2 separate regions of the Homo sapiens genome follow, and region 2 is linked to region 1. The links are contacts of gene promoters, found by promoter capture Hi-C in blood cells and fetal thymus (Javierre and others, 2016). All regions are on one chromosome and are shown on one strand. The core of a region is centred on a gene start or on the middle of the fragment in contact, and the rest is flanking DNA. Distances in the headings are between cores, read along the strand shown. Region 1 holds the start of TMEM123 (transmembrane protein 123). Region 2 overlaps MMP8 (matrix metallopeptidase 8).

Evidence for each region. Contacts are between HindIII fragments. The CHiCAGO score rates a contact against its expected background, and 5 or more counts as called.
Region 2: a fragment that was not itself captured here is called in contact with the fragment with the promoter of TMEM123 in region 1 in 5 of 17 cell types (monocytes, M1 macrophages, M0 macrophages and 2 more); the score reaches 10.4 in monocytes.

The regions. Positions count from the first base shown.
Region 1 is chr11:102,450,571-102,454,930 of GRCh38, forward strand. TMEM123 (transmembrane protein 123) reads right to left here and starts at 2,195. Exons shown (of 5, transcript NM_052932.3): 1 at 1,954-2,195. The coding sequence starts at 2,053. It overlaps TMEM123-DT (TMEM123 divergent transcript), which reads left to right and starts at 2,349. Exons shown (of 2, transcript NR_135053.1): 1 at 2,349-2,479. RefSeq lists enhancers at 1,199-1,248, 1,429-1,718, 2,449-2,558 and a silencer at 2,039-2,328. The HindIII fragment of the contact is 13,483 bases long and covers 1-4,360 here.
Region 2 is chr11:102,710,774-102,714,891 of GRCh38, forward strand. MMP8 (matrix metallopeptidase 8) reads right to left here. Exons shown (of 10, transcript NM_002424.3): 8 at 3,783-3,936; 9 at 2,981-3,084; 10 at 1,023-2,684. The coding sequence ends at 2,575. Among named protein-coding and RNA genes, the nearest start is that of MMP27, 7.1 kb to the left of the region's middle. The HindIII fragment of the contact is 1,540 bases long and covers 1,791-3,330 here.

The DNA.
Region 1 (4,360 bases), core at 945-3,444:
ACAATATTCTAGGCAATGGTAATACTGTGGAATAAAAGTATTATCTACTTCAAGAGCCATCATCATCTAACGCGGCTTAGTGGTGAAATGGTTAATTGAAAATTTGGATTTTGATCTGAAACCAAACATGTATTAATTGTTTTACTTGCCATAAATTAGCTTACTTATCTATAAAATGGGGACGATACTGTGAGGATTCAATGGGATGATTTATGGACCTAAATTAGCATAGCGTGGGATGCACAGAATATGTACCCAGTAAAAATCAGCCATTAAGAGTTTTAGTATGATGGCTAAAAATCACTATACTTCGTAATGACATTGTATACAGATTACACTATACATGAAGACTACGATTAACAGTTACTAGCTTTTTTGAGAAATCTTCTATTGTATACCTTTTAGTCTAGTTGCAAGGTGACATTATATAGTCTGTAGAAACAGATTCCACCTCTGGTTGGTTATACTAGTTTATGAATTCAGGGCTCGCCTACTGTAGAGCATTTCAAGTTTTGCAAATGGGACTAACCTCTAGTAAGACATTAAGTAATAAACAGAACAAACAGTGCTAAAATAGGGCAAAAAAAATCTGTGTTATCAGGGCAAAAGAAAGAAAAGCATGGTCACTCACAGTTTCTCTAATCGGTAATTCATTGAAACAGTAAGGCTTATCTTCACAAACACAGCAACAAATTTTTAAAAATGGAGACCTCACCTCATGAGATAATTGGTATAAAATTAGGACCAAGATACACGATGGACATGATTTTACCACTTTTTTTCTTAAATGATCTCAAAATTAGGTCTGCGAAGCCAGTTTGTCACACGCACAATTAAGCAAACAAAAAAACTTCAGCAAAACAAAGAAAAATTGTTAATTCACCCAGGTTATTCCAGAAAAAGCAAGTGTTGTGCCTGAACCTTCCAGATTTACAAACTGCCTTTTTCTTTTGCTGGATAAAACGAACCTAAGGCTAACATATACAGTGGATGGATAGAACTTAAAACCATGAAAACCTTGGGTTACTTAACTTATCCTAGTTTACTGACCATTACCTAGGGACCTGACTTCTCTAACAGTTGACAAAGGAAAACAGTATTTACACAACAAATCCCAACTTCCTGGTTTCATCCAAAAAGGGCTGTTTGAAGTCTCCAAAGGGCCAAGGGCCTAAAACGAAACAAATTCCGCCCTACACAGAAAAGCAAAGTCAACATCATCCTGTTACGACCTTACTAGCGACGACAAGGGCCACCGGCGACCGTGCAGCTGTGCCCTTAACGCTGCGCAGCTGCCGCGCGCCTCGGCCGGGTGTTTATGGCACACGAGGGGTGGAGAGCGCCCCGCCATGGGGGCGGCCGCCTCAACTACCGCGAGGGCGGGGCGCGCTCCCCAAAAGCTCCCAACTAGCTCCAAGAGCCCCGAAGTCTAACTTCGAGCGTCAGGGGGACCTAAAGATTGTAATTCATCTGGATAATACTGCATAATATTAGACGCTGAAATGCCTGGGGGACGCTTGAAAAGCTCCCCGACTAACTGGGAGACGTTTCCGCGGGCCTAGGTAGACATATTTTTCAACTCAGCTAATCTTGTTTACAAACGGAAGCCTTAGAAACTCTAACCTCGGCAAACATTAACTTCAGGGAAAGGCTGTAAAAACCAACTTGCGGTAACTCAACAGGTTATGCGCACCCGTCCCGGCCTGCGACCGCCGCATCCAAAAAGCGAGAGGGGAAGCACCAGGCAATTTCCTCAGCAGGCGGCCCCGGGGCCAGCGGGTGACTGGTCCAAACCTCAGTTTCCCCCACCCCGCCCGGTCACCTCTGGGTCCGCCCCGAGCGTTCGGCCAGACACACGCGGAACTTTCTGTACCAGAGCCCAACTTGGGAACCCAAGCCTCGGCAGCGCGCTGCCTCCCACGAACGGGGCTGACGACCCCCGCAGCCACTTACCCGCCATGGCTGCGCTTTCATGGGCGGCCCCCAGCAGCGCTAGCACCTGCAGCGTCCCCAGGAGCAGCGCGGCCCAAGCACCTCGCGCGCCGAGTCCCATTGTTCCGAGGGCAGGATGCGGCAGCCTCGTGGGCTCCCAGCCGAGGTGGCGGCGGCGAGAGCGGCTCCTCTGCGCAGCCGGCGCCGGCTCCGCTTCCCCTTCGGCCGCGCACGTTTCCCCTCCCGCCGCTTGCCCCCCGAATGACCAAATAGGGCGCAGGAGCGGGGCCTGGAGGGGGCGTCGCGTGCGCAGCCGGGGCGGCGGGGCCGGGCTGGGTGGCGCGGGGGCGGGCTCGGGGTTCTGGGCGTGGCGACTCGGCTCGCGGCCTCCCTCGCAGGCGCGCGCTTGGGAACCCCAGAAACCGCGAGCCGTTTCCTTTCTCTTCGGAAATGGCAGTTTTGTTGTCCTGGATGAAGGCGAGCGCCGCTGCCTCCCTGAATGCTGAGCACGCTGGCTTCGCGGTGCCCGGAAGGAAGCCTTTGAAGAGTAGTTTTGCGGGCAGGGAGGGGACAGGGGTGCGTGCGACTCAGAGTGAGAGGGAGGAGTTGCAGGGCAAAGGCGGGAGGAGGGGGAGATTCTGGAGAGGAACTTGAGGGGATGGGATTCACTCTAAGGAGTCCTGGGCGGTCGGAGCTTTCCCCTCGCGTGACCCAGCCTAAGGGGGAAGTGGAGAAAAACAGCTCGACAGATTTGTTGCTTAAATTCAAACGTAAAACACCTACGATCTTCTTATCCCAGTTGTACTTCATCTTCTCCACGGGTTCCCTGTATCTCTGATTAAGACACGAGATTAGTGGAGTGGGCGGGTGGGGGCGCGCGCAGGAGTTGGTAGCAACTCTCAGTGAAATACAGTAGAGCCATGGAAAGCGGGGGCTGCATTAATCCAACCAGCCTTTTCTCTCCTTGTGCCCTGCTGTCCCAGTTCAGATGAAATGGCCAGTTTTGAACAGTTTTTGGCTGAGTTCCTTTTAAACCCTTGGAGCCAATGCTAATCACTTGTCTTGACTTGAAGTGCTTGTAAAGTCTGCATTTTCATCGTGCTCAGAACTCTGAAGTGACATAGCTACCTGTGGCTAATGCATGAGAATAACAAAGGCTGAGTCCTGGCTTGGGTGGGAACCCTCAGCTGAAGTAGAAGACTGAAGGATCCAAGGAACCTAAAATCACAGTGAATCCCCACCTGCAAAGGTCTTAATGTTGCAGATCTTTGGCACCTGAGCCAGATTTCATCACATAAAGGCCACATTGCAGTTAACTTTTGAAAACTGTGTTATGAGAGGTAGAACTTTCTCATGTCAGGCAAATCCATCATTACAGAGGTCTGACTGGTCCTAGAGATTAACTGAGACAATCTGTCCTAAATTTACAGAGACTTCCATCTGTGGATTCAGTCAGCCAACCTGCAAATGTTTCCCCTGCAGCTTATCATGGACAAAAAGCAAGCATTGCACATTTCGATTTTGGTTATTCTATTTAACTGGGGAATCTGGTTTAGGAATAAACCGTTCTGGTGACTACCCCATTATCCAAGCATTTCCCAATCTAGGCCCAACCTGTCTTTCCAGCCTTGGTTCTGTTGCCCATGGAGAAGGGTGCTTTCTGGTTCCTGGCATTTGCATACGTTGTTCTTTCCTTCTGGAATTCTCTTCACCAACCCACAGCTAATACTTCCTTTAAGGCTCAGTGTACTTATAGCCTGGGAATCTGGGGTGGAATAAGAGGTCTGGATGTTTATATCCCCACCACATTCATGTGTTGAAACCTAATCCTCAAGGTGATGATAATAAGATGTGGGACTTGGGTGGGCATAGTGGCTCATGCCTGTAATCCCAGCACTTTGGGAGGCTGAGAAGGGTAGATCGTTTGAGGTCAGGAGTTGAAGACCAGCCTGACCAACATGGTGAAACCCCGCCTCTACTAAAAATACAATTATCTGGGCGTGGTGGGACGTGCCTATAATCCCAGCTACTCGGGAGGCTCCCGAGTAGCTGGGAGGCTGAGGCACAGGAATCGCTTGAACCTGGGAGGTGGAGGTTACAGTGAGCCGAGATCACGCCACTGCACTCCAGCCTGGGAGACAGAGTGAGACTTGTCTCAAGAGAAAAAAAAAAAGATGTGAGGCTTTCCGGAGGTGATTTGGTTGCTAATGAATGGGATTAGTGCCCTTGTAAAGGAGGCCTGAGGGAACTTGTTTCACCCTTCTGTACTGTGAGGGCACAGCAGGAAGACGCCATCTGTGAGGCAGAGGGCCCTCACCAGACACCAAATCTGTTGAGGCCTTGCTCTGTCAACTTCCCAGCCTCCAGAACTGGGACAAATAGATTTCTATTGTTTATAAATTTGTTGATAAAGTATCCCATTTAAGGT
Region 2 (4,118 bases), core at 1,311-3,810, 260 kb after region 1:
GCCTGGGAAATGTAGTGGGACCCCACCTTTACAAAAGAAAATAACTGAGTGTGGTGGTGTGTGCCTGTAGTCCCAAATACTTGAAAGGCTAAGGTGGGGCATTGCTTGAGGCCAGGGGTTTGAGGCTGCAGTGAGTTGTGATTGCACCACTGTACACCAGCCTGGGTGACAGAGCAAGACCCTGTCTCAAAAATAAATAAATAAACAAAAAATAAATAAATGCATTCTAAGCTTAGGTCTTTATATCTCTTGTGCCCATTCAAAATATCAATGTAATAGCTGGAAAATACTACATGTTGTCAACAAGATAATTTTTTTAAAAGGAATAACTCTGAATTCTTTATTACACTTCATATTACAGTTTACTGTCTATGACTCTGTCAAATGTGGTTAAAAAATAGTATGAGATCAGTCCTCATCTCAAAGATGTATAGATGAGGTTTGAGCCAAGAGTCTATCATAGCCAGCACAACTAGCAGGTGTTCTGAGAAGATAAGACACTCATTTTCATGCCTGCATTTTCCTAAAACTTTCATAACTGGCATTATAGAAAGTTTTAGGAAACATGATAGTCTGAAATTGATGCTACTATTAAAAATGGAATATTCAATTCTTATAGATCCTTTTGCATTTGTTACGTTGATATGATGAATCGCTTATACATCTCTCTCACTTTTCTTAGCACAGTCCCTGAAACATAATTAATAGTAGGTAGGTAGTTAATTCTTGCTGAATAAATCAATGAATGGAATGATAATATATACTTGTTTCAGTTTTCTTATTTTGTAAAATAATTTGAGAATAATGTATTAACATACTTGAGGAAATTTTTGAGGACCTCAAATATTTATAAAATATTTCACACACTCTGAAGCAATATCTAAAGTTTATTATCAATATTATAATAATTCTGACACAAGCATTATATATCTGCACAACATCTAAAATTTGCTATTCCTTTTTATACTTTAGATGAATTATGTGGTAACATTTTAAGAAATTAAAAGCAAATCACAAATCAGTCATTTGAAGTAAAAATCTTTAATTTGAACTTATTTAATAGATTATTTTAATTTTTGAACAAGCATAAAGGTGCCAATTTAATTATCTGTGGGATTTAAAAACTTCAACAGAGAAAGAAAATAGGAGGTACTAGTGAGAAATATATTTTACAGTCTACATATTTATTGTATAATAAGCTATATTATATTCTAATAACAGCAAATATAACATTATAATGATTTTGATATCTGGACTCGCTAGACTTGGTCCCATAAATCCTATAGTTCTTAACAAAAAAACCCATCCGTTAGCAAACTTACACATCTAAGCTCAGTTTAATGCAACTTAATGAGACATTGAATTTTATGCAGCTAACCCAAGTTATCTATAGTGTGTGCCCTCCTGAGTACCCCAGGAAATAGAAGTAAAGAACTGACGAACATCAGATCCAACTGGCCCATTTGGGTTTGGACTCTAGGAGAGAGCAAGGAGGAGGCAGGAGAGGAAGTGGTGGTTCTCTTTTGGCTGCTGTCCTGGGAAGATGCCCAGTAGTCCTTAGCAAGGGTTCTACTTCTGCATTCTGTGTTGATTCATTTTCATATGTGTAGATGTACTGTGTCTAGTACCTCATGTCTAGGGTTGCTGTAACAAAGTATTGCAAAGTTGGTGGCTTAAAACAAAGGAAATTTATTCCCTCACGGTTTTGGAGGATAGAAGTCCGAATTCTGCAGGTGTCAGCAGGGTCACACTTGAAGGCTATTGGAGGGAATCCTTCCTTGCCTCTTCAAAGCTTCTACTGGTGGCTTACAGTCCTTGGAATTCCTTGGCTTGGAGATGCGTCACTCCAATCTCTGCCTCTGTCTTCATACGGCCTCCTCCCCTAGGTGACTATGCCTCTCTTCTTCTTATAAGAACAACAGTCATAATGGATTTAGAGCCCACCCTAATTCAGTGTGATCTCACCTTAACTTAACTAATTACATCTGCAAAGACCCTGGTAAGCTCACATTCATGGGTACCTGGGGTTAGAACTTCAACATATCTTTTATGGGGGACACAATTCAACCCACGAAACATATCATCTACATTTCTTTCCAAGGGTAGAAAACAGCACCATATTTTCTGTAAAGGCCAAGGGTACTGTCTAGGTTGTTTATAATCCTTACTTCTAACCAAAATCTAGTTCTAAATTGCATGTAGAAGATATACATAGGACATTTTAAGAAACTGAGGGATGTATGAAGTCAGATAGGCAAGTAATATAACAATAAATCCTAGAAGTCAGATATGTAAGTATTGAAATAGTAAATATTGAGGTGACAAAAAGGCTTACTTTCCTTCTCTTTGATGGAATCACTAATGTAAGATGGAATGTGTAAGAACTGAATAAGCCTCTGCAAATAGTGGAATATTCCAAACATATTTTCACGGAGGACAGGTAGAATGGATACAGTGATGGGAAACAATGACTTAATATTGAGAAAAGTATAAGCAGGACACAATGTAACGAAAATGCTTGCTGAACTTCCCTTCAACATTCTGAAAGTGGATACAGCCACATTTGATTTTGCTTCAGCCATATCTACAGTTAAGCCATTTATTGCCTCTTGCAACTCTGGTAACTCTCTGAGCAATAAGATCAAATGCGTAATATCTTGGTCCACTGAAGACATGGAAGAAATCTATAAAAAAAGAGAGATAATTTATTGAATTAGCTTATAGAATATCTCAGATGTCTTCAGTTAGAAAACCCTGCCCCTGTTCCAACATAACATTCAAATGCAAACATGCTATTTAAAAAATTTAAACACCAGGTGCGGTGGCTAATGCCTGTAATCCCAGAACTCTGGGAGGCTGAGGTGGGAGGATTGCTTGAGGCCAGGAGTTTGACACTAACCTGGTCAGCATAGTAAGACCCTGTCTCCTCTATAATAAACAAACAAACAACACATTTATTAGGTTTTTTTTTCCTACTTACGTTCTTGCTGGAAAACTGCATCAACTTTACTCTCTATTCCTGGAAAGGCACCTGATATGCTTTTGGGATAACCTGGCTCCATGAATTGTCTTTGGTTATCATATCTGGTAAAAACAAAATGTTATCCGATTTAACACCAATACAGAATATAACGAAAAAAATTTTTTTTATTGTATATAATTTACAAAGTCTCCTCACACATATTTTTTCATTCAGTTCTCACAATGCCCTGTTTACTAGGATTAAGAATGGTTAATTTCTCTACCTAAGGGTACACATTTATAAAACATATGGTTATCATTAATTCTAAAACAGGCTTGATGGCTGACACACTGTTATTACCCAAAGTAAGCTTATATTTTCAAGGCTTTTACTTAATTGGTATATAGTATAACTCCCTTGTGTGTGTATATAGATATATAAACATACATAATAGGTTCAACTTGGGAACCAAATTCTGCAGGCTATCTGGATAACATTTGCTTGCATATGTCTGAGTTGAACTCATAAGTGAGAATTAGCTTAAATCTTTCTTTGTATCTCACCCTAGTGCTTTGTTAAGGTTTTCTTTGTTTCTTGATGCAGAATCCTCAATACTATTGCATAGACATTTTAATTTTATAGAAATGAAAAATTTCAAAAGCCATGGTAACATCAATCATCCTGTAAAAAAGAATATATTCTCGGTAAAACCTATTAGAGACTATCTAGATTGTTTTAAACCTTGAAATGCTTGAAGGTTTGTAAGCAGGGTAGAGAAACACAGATTTCAACCTATAATTGAAAAAATAGTTTACGTTACCTCCAGAATTGGTCATTTACAAAGAAGTATGTTTTACTTCTGTAGAAAACAGCTGCGTCAATTGCTTGGACGCTGCTGGGGAAGCCATAGTTTGATATATCCTTGGGATAACCTTGCAGAATATCATAGCCACTCAGAGCCCAGTATTGGTTGCCTGTCAATGATTCAGGTTAAGTGTTAAATACGACTTTTCCATTTTTACAAAATTATATATATATATATATATATATATATATATATATATATATATACCACTTCTTGGTCTTGCACATAGATATGAAAATGGAACAAATAGTCTTTAAAAGATGAAGATGATAAAGTTAAGTTCAGGGGGGC